Linked DNA regions of Homo sapiens: region 1 is linked to region 2. Evidence: promoter capture Hi-C in 16 types of primary human blood cells and fetal thymus (Javierre and others, 2016). All regions are on one chromosome and are shown on one strand. The core of a region is centred on a gene start or on the middle of the fragment in contact, and the rest is flanking DNA. Distances in the headings are between cores, read along the strand shown.

Evidence for each region. The method cuts DNA at HindIII sites, captures the fragments that hold promoters and counts their contacts. A CHiCAGO score of 5 or more calls a contact.
Region 1: a fragment that was not itself captured here is called in contact with the fragment with the promoter of ZAR1L in region 2 in 1 of 17 cell types (M2 macrophages); the score reaches 5.7 in M2 macrophages.

The regions. Positions count from the first base shown.
Region 1 is chr13:31,798,932-31,804,581 of GRCh38, reverse strand. RXFP2 (relaxin family peptide receptor 2) reads right to left here. Exons shown (of 18, transcript NM_130806.5): 18 at 1,193-2,436. The coding sequence ends at 2,177. The region is part of intron 2 of LOC105370152 (a long non-coding RNA gene); the gene reads left to right. Among named protein-coding and RNA genes, the nearest start is that of RXFP2, 62 kb to the right of the region's middle. The HindIII fragment of the contact is 1,695 bases long and covers 1,174-2,868 here.
Region 2 is chr13:32,311,559-32,316,612 of GRCh38, reverse strand. It overlaps ZAR1L (zygote arrest 1 like), which reads left to right and starts at 1,250. Exons shown (of 6, transcript NM_001136571.2): 1 at 1,250-1,298; 2 at 2,063-2,283; 3 at 4,520-5,054. The coding sequence starts at 4,688. BRCA2 (BRCA2 DNA repair associated) reads right to left here and starts at 1,105. Exons shown (of 27, transcript NM_000059.4): 1 at 946-1,105; 2 at 86-191. The coding sequence starts at 152. RefSeq lists an enhancer at 446-715, a promoter at 824-1,320, a cis regulatory region at 1,649-1,715 and a silencer at 1,834-2,054. The HindIII fragment of the contact is 7,545 bases long and covers 1-1,526 here.

The DNA of each region.
Region 1 (5,650 bases), core at 772-3,271, 510 kb after region 2:
ATGATTTGCCCACACCCTCTCCCACTCAGAGATGGCACCGTCTGTGGCCTCTGAAATTCTGCAGTGACATTTAATTGATGCTTAGATTGTCATGGAAAATGGTTCATGGACACAGGTGATATTTTCATAACCACACAGAAATACCATGTTTAGAAAACAGGCTTGGCCTAGCACAAAAGTTCTCACTCAATCCACATTAAAGACTATTATTTACTAAAATAATACAAATTTCTAATGGTTTTCTATTTGCAGAGCAGTACAGAATAAGACTATAAATTACCAAGCTATCAGATATGAAGTTCATGCTATTTGTTGGCATGTTGCTGACCTATGTAGAGCTCCCATTTTTCCATACAGCTGCCACCTTCCCCAAAGCATCTGGTTGCGTGCCTCTTCTCATGCCCACTCACTGCACTACAGTAAAGTGCGGGCTCTTACATGGTTCCCAAAGACTTGGTTCATGGACCACGGATGATGCTTTTCAAGAACGGGAGACACACATTGGTGCTAAAATTACAATACCCTAGGCTCAGGGTCTACCCCTTATTTATGCTCCTGGTGTTAGAAAATGTATTAGGAAATAAATCGTAAGATGATCAAGGACTGGCAAAGACATCTGATAAAATGTCAGCAAACCTGGAAAACAAGTTAGGAAGCAATTCATCATACTGAAGAAACAAGATGGAGAAAAATTTAAAGCCATAAAGGAAAGGGTAGCATAGTCAATGAGTGGGAACATTATTTCTAGAATCCTAATGAAAATCTTTTATTATACATGAGAAATATCTTACTTGATCAAAATGAATGAACTCACGTTATGATTTTAGTCAATAGTGAGTAATAACAAGTAAATTACCAGAATGGCTGAGACCCATAAACTCTGAATTTCTTTCTCTTCTGGATGCTACTGGATAAAGGGTGTCCATTTAATATGTAATAGGAGGTATTGTGGTGGTCTTAGTCAGCTGCTTACATTTTATCTCATTAAAGGAACTCAGAATGAAGTGAACAGTGAAGAAATTAAGTAACTGCCTCATGCTGTGGCAAAAGGGGAAGAGAGAAAAATATAGGATGTGTCTTGTGAACTGAAATGCTGTGTTTCCTGGCTGTATTCTTTATCAGGAGAAACATGCTTAACAGTCAACAAACCCCATCCATGGTCTTTGTTAAGCTTAAATTAATATATGGACAAGTGCAAAATATAATTTTATTTACCCAGTTCTCATTTTCACATATAATTTTTTTCAGTTTCGTTTTCAAAAAACCACCCCAAACTTCATTGCTTTTTTGTTAAAAACAATGAGAACAAAACCATTGTGAGTATGCAAACAGTCCCAAATAAAACCATAATTCTTGAATCCCATTTAACACTTCTTATCTGCATATTTTATGAAAGCAGAACTTGCCAGCAATAGGGATACTGCTCTAAAGAAATTATACTTTAAGAATATTAAAGTGTACTTTTTAGCAGTGAAAGTGTCCAATTTGTTTGTGCCCTGGGCAACCTTCAGAAAAATATCTTAAGAATTCATCTCTTCTGATATTAAATAAAATCCAAAAGGCAAATGGTATGAGGCTTCATCAGTGTGACTCTCTGGTCATAGGTTAGACATGGTAACCTGGTTGGAAGTTCTGTTTTCAAAGTGGCTACTCCACCGGCCTTCACAGAGGAGGACTTCGGGTAGATGAATATTTTGGAAATCCTTTGCTATCAATCCAGCAGGATGCTGATGGTTTTATTTGATATTGAAAAGGCAAGGAAAGAGTTGTTAGATTTCTGTTATTATGGCCACACTGGAATCAGATGTTGTGAGTGTTTCTATTTCATGGACAGTGCAACCCGATGTGAAAGACCACACAGTGCCAACCTGTGGTCATTTGTTGGTGGGTTGTGTTGATTAGCTAGAGATCAGCTGCACCTCAGCCCACTATACACGAATTCACATGTGCTTTTCAGGCATGTGGGGTGAGGAGAGGAACCTTTGGTGCTGTCCTCAGCATGGTTGGTAGATAGTACAGCTGCCATTGGAATGCAGTGACAGGAGCCATTCTGCTGTGCTCTCTGTGCAGAAAGGCTTGCCGTTGGTAAAGATGAAAAGCATTGCAGATGTCATCTTCCAAAAGCTGTCCCCTGTTTTAGGTAGTCCACTGAAAGTCCAGTGATCCAAAATGATTGCTAGGAAACTGGTTTCATTATACTGTCTCCAAGTGTTATTTTGTTCAAAACCCCAAGTTTCAGGGAAGAGGAGTCCTCTATCCACACAATGGATGTAGATAAACTTTTTTTTTTAATTTTGAAAATTGATTTCCTCTGATGTTTGTGCAGCAGCTGTTTCAACTTGTCCTTAAAAAAGTTGGTTGTGAGAGTATAGAGGATTGGATTCAAAGCACTGTTAACTGGAAGGAAAAAAATCACTATCCAGGAAGTCATTGTGTCTGGAAAAGGAAGCAAAGTGTGAAAAAAAAGTTGAAGTTTTAAATAGACATAAAATACAAATAACACTTTGCAGTCAATGCTATTTATGAGAGGGAGACATAGTACATTTTAAGTTTTCTCTCACCTGAAGGAAAATCTTTGTTGGAAGAGCACAGAAGCTATGAATTCAAGGTCTTAACGATTTAACTTTTCTGAGTTTCAGTAAATAATGTGAAGGTCATTGTGATATTAACAGGAAATATGTGAAAACATTTTGTAAACTATAAATTGCTATATAATGCATTTTTTCCTATTTTATCACCTTCCTTTATAGGAAAATAAAAAAATAAAGAAATAATCTTTAGTCAATAGAGTGAGGTTCACAAAACTTCTGGTCCCCTGGACCAAGCCAGATCTGACCTTGGTCTTAACTCCATCCAGTTCTCAAAGCTTATTGCCCTGCCCTGGTGTTCTGGTTATCCTGTTATCCTATTAAAAGCTTTGAAGAGCAAAGAGGAATGCATTCCCTAAACTTGATGAAATTCTCTTGTGTGCAGCCCTACAAATGCTAATAGAATATTCAGGGAAAGAGGTCACAAGAAGTTCTTTGTGAGGTGAAATTTGGAATGATAGTGTCCTTCCTGAGAGCATCATTTCATTTGCTTGGTTAGCACAAAATGCATCTTTCCCTTTACACGTGGCCTGATCCTGTGGCCGGACACTTAGCTAGGTTGAGTGTGAGCGAATCACTTATGCTTCCTCAACTTCATCTGCTCTCTCTGTTAAAGGGGGCTGGTGATAACTTGCTCACTGAATCCAGCGGGCTGGGCCAGAGTCAGCTCTGCTGATGTGCTTTTTTGGTACTAAGACTTGAGATCCTCAAACCTTACCACAGGACGCTACTTCCTCTCACATCTTCACAATTTCAAGGAACTCCCCATTCAGGTGAAGAGGTGGCTAGTAAGACCCATGATGCTTTCTCTCATCATCCTCTGCTCTCCTCCTTCGCAATCTCATAATTTTTTTTATCCTTCAGCCACTGTTATTTTGTTCTTCTCTTGACCCTGCCTTATTTCTTGTATCTTTCTGTTCTTCCTCTCTATGTCTTCTTCCTTTTCCATTTCTTCTCTGACTGCTTATCTGACCTTCCTTCTTCTTTTCCTTTGATCTCTTTCCTCTCCTTTTCTATATTTACCTTCCTCTCTTCCTATCCTATCTTCTCTTCCTTGTCCTTATTTTTTAACTGAAAGGAATATGAAAGAAAAAAATTATGTTTTAGCCTGTCTTAAATTAAGTTTTATATTATTTGTCCCTAATTTAAAAAAATTAGACAATCTGAACAGTTAGTGATTGAAGAAAAACAAAATAAGTGGCCTTTTTCTGTTGTGCCCACAAAGGGAATTGTGATCACGAATCCCACCCCAATCTCACAGAAAAACAATGCCTGATAGTGCCTGCTTTCAATTAGGCAAAGGCAAATAGGCCACGTAAGTTCCACTCTGAATGAAATCAGGCATGTTCAGGGTGGTATGGCCATAGACTTAAGTTCTACTCTGAATGAGACTTCTTTTTGTTTTTGTTTTGTTTTGTTTTTGAAATGGAGTCTCACTCTGTCGCCCAGGCTGGAGTGCAGTGGCACGATCTCGGCTCACTGCAAGCTCTACCTCTTATGTTCATGCCATTCTCCTGCCTCAGCCTCCTGAGTAGCTGGGACTACAGGCACCTGCCACCATGCCCGGCTAATTTTTTATATATTTTCAGTAGAGACGGGGTTTCACCGTGTTAGCCAGGATGGTCTTGATCTCCTGATCTCGTGATCTGCCCACCTCGGCCTCCCAAAGTGCTGGGATGAGACTTCTTATAAGATTAGCAGCAGCTGAGTTCTGAGATAGGCTAACTCTGGCCTATCTTTTGGGTGACCCCAGGTACTGTCAGTGGCATGCCATAACCAGTAAATGCCAGACTTCTTGGAGGGTGGGGACAGGGTTGGTTTAGGTCAGTGAAGGCAGCATTTCTTACAACGCCATGGGAAGCTGGGCAAGCGAGAAGAAGCTTTGTCAACTGTGATCATGACATTTTTCCTGGTTCCACTGAGGTGTTCAAGACAAACCTCAGACTATTGAACTATACATGTAAAGAAAGACTGGTGTGTGGCTCAATAATGTTTCCACAAGACAATGTTCTACTCTTCTAGTTCCCTTCATGGGGGTATTTACTAAGCTTATCATGATCTGAGGTGTCGTAGACTCGCTGAGGATGATGAGTTCTGCTGCCATGTGAGGACACAGCAGAGCGGACGCCTCCTGTGAGGCAATGAGAAGGGCTCAGGAGAAATCAAACCTGCTGACACTTTGATCTTGGACTTCCAGCCTCCAGAACTGGACGTCCTTTGTTATAGCAGTCCTAGTGGCCTCATACAGACAGAAAAAGCCTCAAAGAAGATTAAAACAGGCAGGAATTTGAGGGACCATCTAGAGGTAGTCTCATTGAGGTGAGGTGAGATGGTCTCCCTGAGATCACTCAACAAGTCAGTGGCAGGGGCAGGAGAGGAACCCAGGACCTCCGCCTTACTTGTTGCTGGGTCCTTCTTCCACCACACTAGGCTGCGTCCCCCTACAAGTGGGAAAGCACATCAAAAGGTGTGGAGACGGGGTCAGGCTTGGTGGTTCACGCTTGTAATCCCAGCACTTTAGGAGGCCAAAGCAGGGGGCAGATCACTTGGGGTCAGGAGTTCGAGACCAGCCTGGCCAACATGGTGAAACCCTGTCTCTACTAAAAATACAAAAATTAACGAGGTGTGGTGGTGCACTTCTGTAATCCCAGCTACTCGGGAGGCTGAGGCATGAGAATCGCTTGAACCAGGGAGGCAGAGGTTGCAGTCAGTTGGGATCACACCACTGCACTCCAGCCTGGGCAACAGAGCGAGACTCCATTTTTTTTTTTTTTGAAGAAAGTGTGGAGACAGTAGTGGGGAGGGGGTTGATGAGACTGATCCCCTATTCCATCACTCTTGGACCAGCTCACCTTCTTTAGTTGACTAATCATTTACTCAAAAGCACTATGTGAAAAACACTGTGGAAAATGCACAGAAGAATAAGACATACACGCCTCCCCAAGCTTATCATCTGAAGGACACAATGGACACACTAAGAAATAGTGTCGCTATGAGGCAGTTCACATGAGGCCAATAAACCTGGTGTAAACAAACCATCATGGATGTTTAAGCAACTGGAT
Region 2 (5,054 bases), core at 1-2,500:
TGTGACGTACTGGGTTTTTAGCAAGCATTTTTTAGAAAACACTTTCTCGGTGTAATTTATAAAGTTATATAAAATTTGTCAATACCTGCTTTGTTGCAGCGTGTCTTAAAAATTTCAAAAAATGTTGGCCTCTCTTTGGATCCAATAGGCATTTTTACCTACGATATTCCTCCAATGCTTGGTAAATAAGTCTGCAAAACAGAAGACCAAAATGCACTTACACAGGGATGCATTCCTTATTATGTGACTGAGGTAAAACTCAGAAGCGCTGGAAAATTTGTTTGAATTCTAATTCAGTCCCATCTCCTGGAACGGTAACAGCTTACTGTGAGGATGGGAACATTTTACAGCTGTGCTGTCCAAACCGGTGCCACTAGCCACATTAAGCACTCGAAACGTGGCTAGTGCGACTAGAGAAGAGGATTTTCATACGATTTAGTTTCAATCACGCTAACCAGTGACGCGTGGCTAGTGGGGACAGAGGGCTCCAGTTAGAGACCAACGCCGCCTGGTAATTCCCATCAGCATGTCTTCGGAATACAGCAATTACCAGGGGCTTAAGTAAGGCAAATACAGCGTGCCCAGCAGCTGTAAAACACTTCCCCAAAACAGCAATATTCCGTTAAAGTGATCGTGTTTCCAAGAAATTTCAGATGGCGTCATCTGGGACAGCTGGGAGGGAAGTTAAGTCTTGAGCTGAAGGCGGAGCCCAAAGGCCGGGCCGGAGGCGGGAAATGGAGACCCAGGGAAGGGGCGGGGCTCGAATTTGCTTGGCGAAAATCTGCCTTCGGGCAAGGACCTTTCTCTCAGGCATGGGTGGGGGTTGGCAGAGACAAAAGGGCAAGAAGCCGCGGCAGCGACCCGGGGCGTGAGGCGCTCCCCCGCCACGCTGGACTGGGACTGCGGAAGACGCGCTCGTCCCAACCCACTACCACCACCACTAACCCGCTCCAGAGGTGCAGTTCTTTTTTGGCCGGAGTAAGCTGACAAAAACCGCGCCGGTCACAAATCTGTCCCCTCACGCTTCTCCCGGCGGCGACCCACCGCCGCAAAAGACACCCGAGGCGCAGCAGAGGCGCAGCAGTGCCACAGCGGCTCCGCCTCTGCCGCCTAGTTTCAGAAGCTCGCGCCACAAGCCCGCGCTGGCCACGTGACGCCGTGACGCGACACGCAGCACACGCACCACCCGGAAGTCAGGCCTGGGTGGGCCGCTGCGGGTATTTCTCAGTGTGGCGAAAGGAAATTCCTTGTCAGGCATCCCAACCGTCAGTATCTGACCGAATAAAGCGGGAGCTGGAGTGTGTGTTCTCTTCTCGCTGACCCTTAAGAGTCCCAGGCCACCCTGCTTGGAGGGGCCGCCCCTATGCCTACTCCAAGTCCCCCATCCCTTTCTTTTTGCTCCAGCTCATGTTTGGGTGGGCGCCCTCGGGACACGACCTGGGACCTATGAAATACCTTTGTTCTGACCTTAAAAGGGATGTTCTCTCAAGACCTGTTCCCCAAAGCGAGCCGATCTTACAAAAGCTTAGAGTGGTCGGTGTGTGGTTGTGGATGACTTCACTTAGTGGTAGTGGGCGGGGCTGTTATTTGAAATCAGAGGATTTTAGTTCCAGTAGCTGTTCTGCTATTGGGTAGCAGGTGTTCAAGACCTCCGAGCCCGTTTCCTTGCTTGAAAAATTGTGAAACCCATCTTAACTCGCTCATGAAGTGTGAGGTACCTTGCTCCGCAGGGCTTGGTAGTATCTTTTGCTTTTTTTTTTGAGACGGAGTTTCGCTCTTGTGGCCCGGGCTGGTGTGCAATGGCGCAATCTCCGCTCACCGCAACTTCCGCCTCCAGGGATCAAGTGGTTCTCCTGCCTCAGCCTCCCGAGTAGCTGGGAATACAGGCATGGGCCACCACGCACGGCTAACTTTGCATTTTTAAGTAGAGACGGGGTTTCTCCGTTGTTGGTCAGTCTGGTCTCAACCTCCCGACCTCAGGTGATCTGCCTGCCTCGGCCTCCCAAAGCGCTGGGATTACAGGCATGAGCCACCACACCCGGCCCATCTTTTGCATTCTTAGGATTCGGATCACCTGTCTTCCTCGCAGGCTGAACTGGAAGACCTGACTTCATCTCCGAATTCGTTGGTTCTGTAACATGCCTAATACAAGGCTGAATAGGGTTTGTTGTAAGACCTACAAAACCTTCAAATGGATTCAGTGAGAGTTGCTCCCATGGGGGCCTTGCTGCTTCCAGAAGGTGCTTGAGCAGTAAACAGAAGCAACCTTGGATTAGGAAAAGGGTGGGCTCCGCTTGGTTCCTTAGGGACCATTTTAGTTTGATAATCAGTAATCCTTAGTTGTAGAAGGAGGCCTTACTAATGCAGATAGATTCTAAAGCTTTTGCTCTAAGTCTAATTCGCAAAGAAATACGTCTGTGATCCTTACTAATAACAGCTGCCACTTACCAAACATTTTATGAGTTAGGCATTCTGCTTTGGGTTTTCAAGCAATACCATGTTTAATCTTACAGTAATCCTGTAAATTGGTCAGTATTGTCAGATGAGGATACTGAATCAAGTAGTTAAGTAATGTGCCTGGTAGTAAGGCCCAGGTTTGAATTCTAGTCCATTTGACTTCATACACTTAACTAACCTGTGATTTATTTACCCTATAAATCAGAACAATATGCTTTGTCCCCTTTTTGTGGGGGAGGGGTGTCTCACTAGGAGTGGACTAATGAGAACCCGTGGCATGTCACACAAGTCTCAGAAATAACATTTTCTGTCATTTTATACAGCCCCCCATACCTTTATGTTTCTTGTTCTCTTTGTACCAGGGACTTGCAACTTATTAGCTCCACCATAATAGACTTTCTCACCTATTCTCTTCTAGTGCAGCTGCTCAATTTACTATTTGTATTCAATTTACAATATGCTTTAATTTTTCTTAAAAACATTATTTCCAGCTGGGCATGGTGGCTCACGCCTGTAATCACAGCACTTTGGGAGGCCAAGGTGGGCAGATCACCTGAGGTCAGGAGTTCGAGACCAGCCTGGCCAACATGGCAAAACCCTGTCTCTACTAAAAATACAAAAATTAACTGGGTGTGGTGGCATGTGCCTGTAATCCCAGCTACTTGGGAGGCTGAGGTGGGAGAATCACTTGAACCCCAGAGGCGGAAGTTGCAGTGAGCCGAAATCATGCCACTGCACTCCTGCCTGGGAGACAGAGCAAGGAAACTCCATTTCAAACAAGCAAACAAACAAAAACCCAAAAAACCATTATTTCCTAAAAGTTGTATATATTTAATGTGCACAACATGTATATGTACACAGTGAGATGATTACTATAGTCAAGCAATTAACATATCCATCTGTTCACATAATTACCTTTCTTTTGTGTGCGGTGAGAGCACCTGAAATTTCTCTTTGAAACTTTTCAGTATAAAATACAGTATTGTTAACTGTAGTCGTTATGCTGTAAATTAGATCTCTAGACTCATTCATTCTACCTAACTGTAACATTTTAGGCTCTGACCAGTCTCTCTCCATTCCCCCCAACTTCCTGTCCCTGGTAACCACCATTCTACTTTCTGCTTCTATGTATTTGACTTTTTCAGATTCCACATATCAGTGAGTTTATGCAGTATTTTTCTATCTGGCTTATTTCACTTAGCATAATGTTCCCCAGTTTCACCCATGTTGTTGCAAATGGCAGGATCTCCTGTTTTTTGTTTGTTTGTTTGTTTGAGACGGAGTCTTTCTCTCTCTGTTGCCCAGACTGGAGTGCAGTAGTGTGATCTCAGCTCACTGCAACCTTTGCCTCCCGGGTTCAGGTGATTCTCCAGCCTCAGCCTCCCGAGTAGCTGGGATTACAGGAGCGTGCCACCATACCCGGCTGATTTTTGTATTTTTATTAGAGGCAGGGTTTCATCATGTTGGCCAGGTTGGTCTCGAACTCCTGACCTTAGGTCATCTGCCTGCCTCGGCCTCCCAAACTGCTGGGATTACAGGTGTGAGCCACCGCGCCTGGCCAGGATCTCCTGTTTTAAGGCTGAATAATATTCCATTGTATAAATACATGCCACAATTTCTCTATCCATTTTTCTGTTAACAGACACTTAGATTGTTTCCATAACTTGGCTATTGTGCATAATGCTACAACGAACAAGGAAGTGAAGGTATCTCTTCAGGATATTGATTTCATTTCCTTTGGGTAAATACGCAGTGGTGGGATTACTGGATTATCTGGTACTTCTATTAACTTTTTTAAGGAACCTTCATACTGTTGTCCATAATGGCTGTACCTTAAAACATTATCTAACATTACCACATTACCTTACAAAGGATCTTTAGAATGGTCACTACAGGAATATATGAATTAATCACTAATTAAAGCATATGTGTGAATAAGCTGGAAATGAAAAACAGCTTTGAAAAAAAGATTCCCGAACAGTGAAGAGGTAGGGAAAAGCAATTAGGTAGGAATCAGGTGGCAATTAGACATCTGTAGATAGAGCTTCTCTCCCTCAATCAGGGTAATAAGCAGCAGCTCCCATTAGAATCTGAAATAAATGGAGAAGCCAGGAATGAATCTGAACCAACCTGATGAAGAGAAAGAAGGGGCGGATGAAGGAGGAAGGCAAAATAAGGACCCAAACAAACTGGCTAGGATATTAGACTGCGCCTGAGCACCTGAGAGCGGATGGAGCGCTTTGTCCGTGTTCCCTATGGCTTGTACCAGGGTTATGGGAGCACAGTGCCTTTGGGCCAGCCTGGACTCTCAGGGCACAAACAGCCCGACTGGAGGCAAAATATGGGTCCTCCCACTTTTCTGGCCAGGCCAGGGCTGCTGGTGCCCGCGAACGCCCCTGACTACTGCATTGACCCTTACAAGAGGGCGCAGCTTAAGGCCATTCTCTCCCAGATGAACCCCAGCCTGAGCCCGCGGCTGTGCAAGCCCAACACCAAGGAGGTGGGCGTGCAGGTGAGCCCGCGGGTGGACAAGGCTGTGCAGTGCTCTCTGGGGCCTCGCACCCTCAGCAGCTGCTCCCCCTGGGACGGCAGAGACC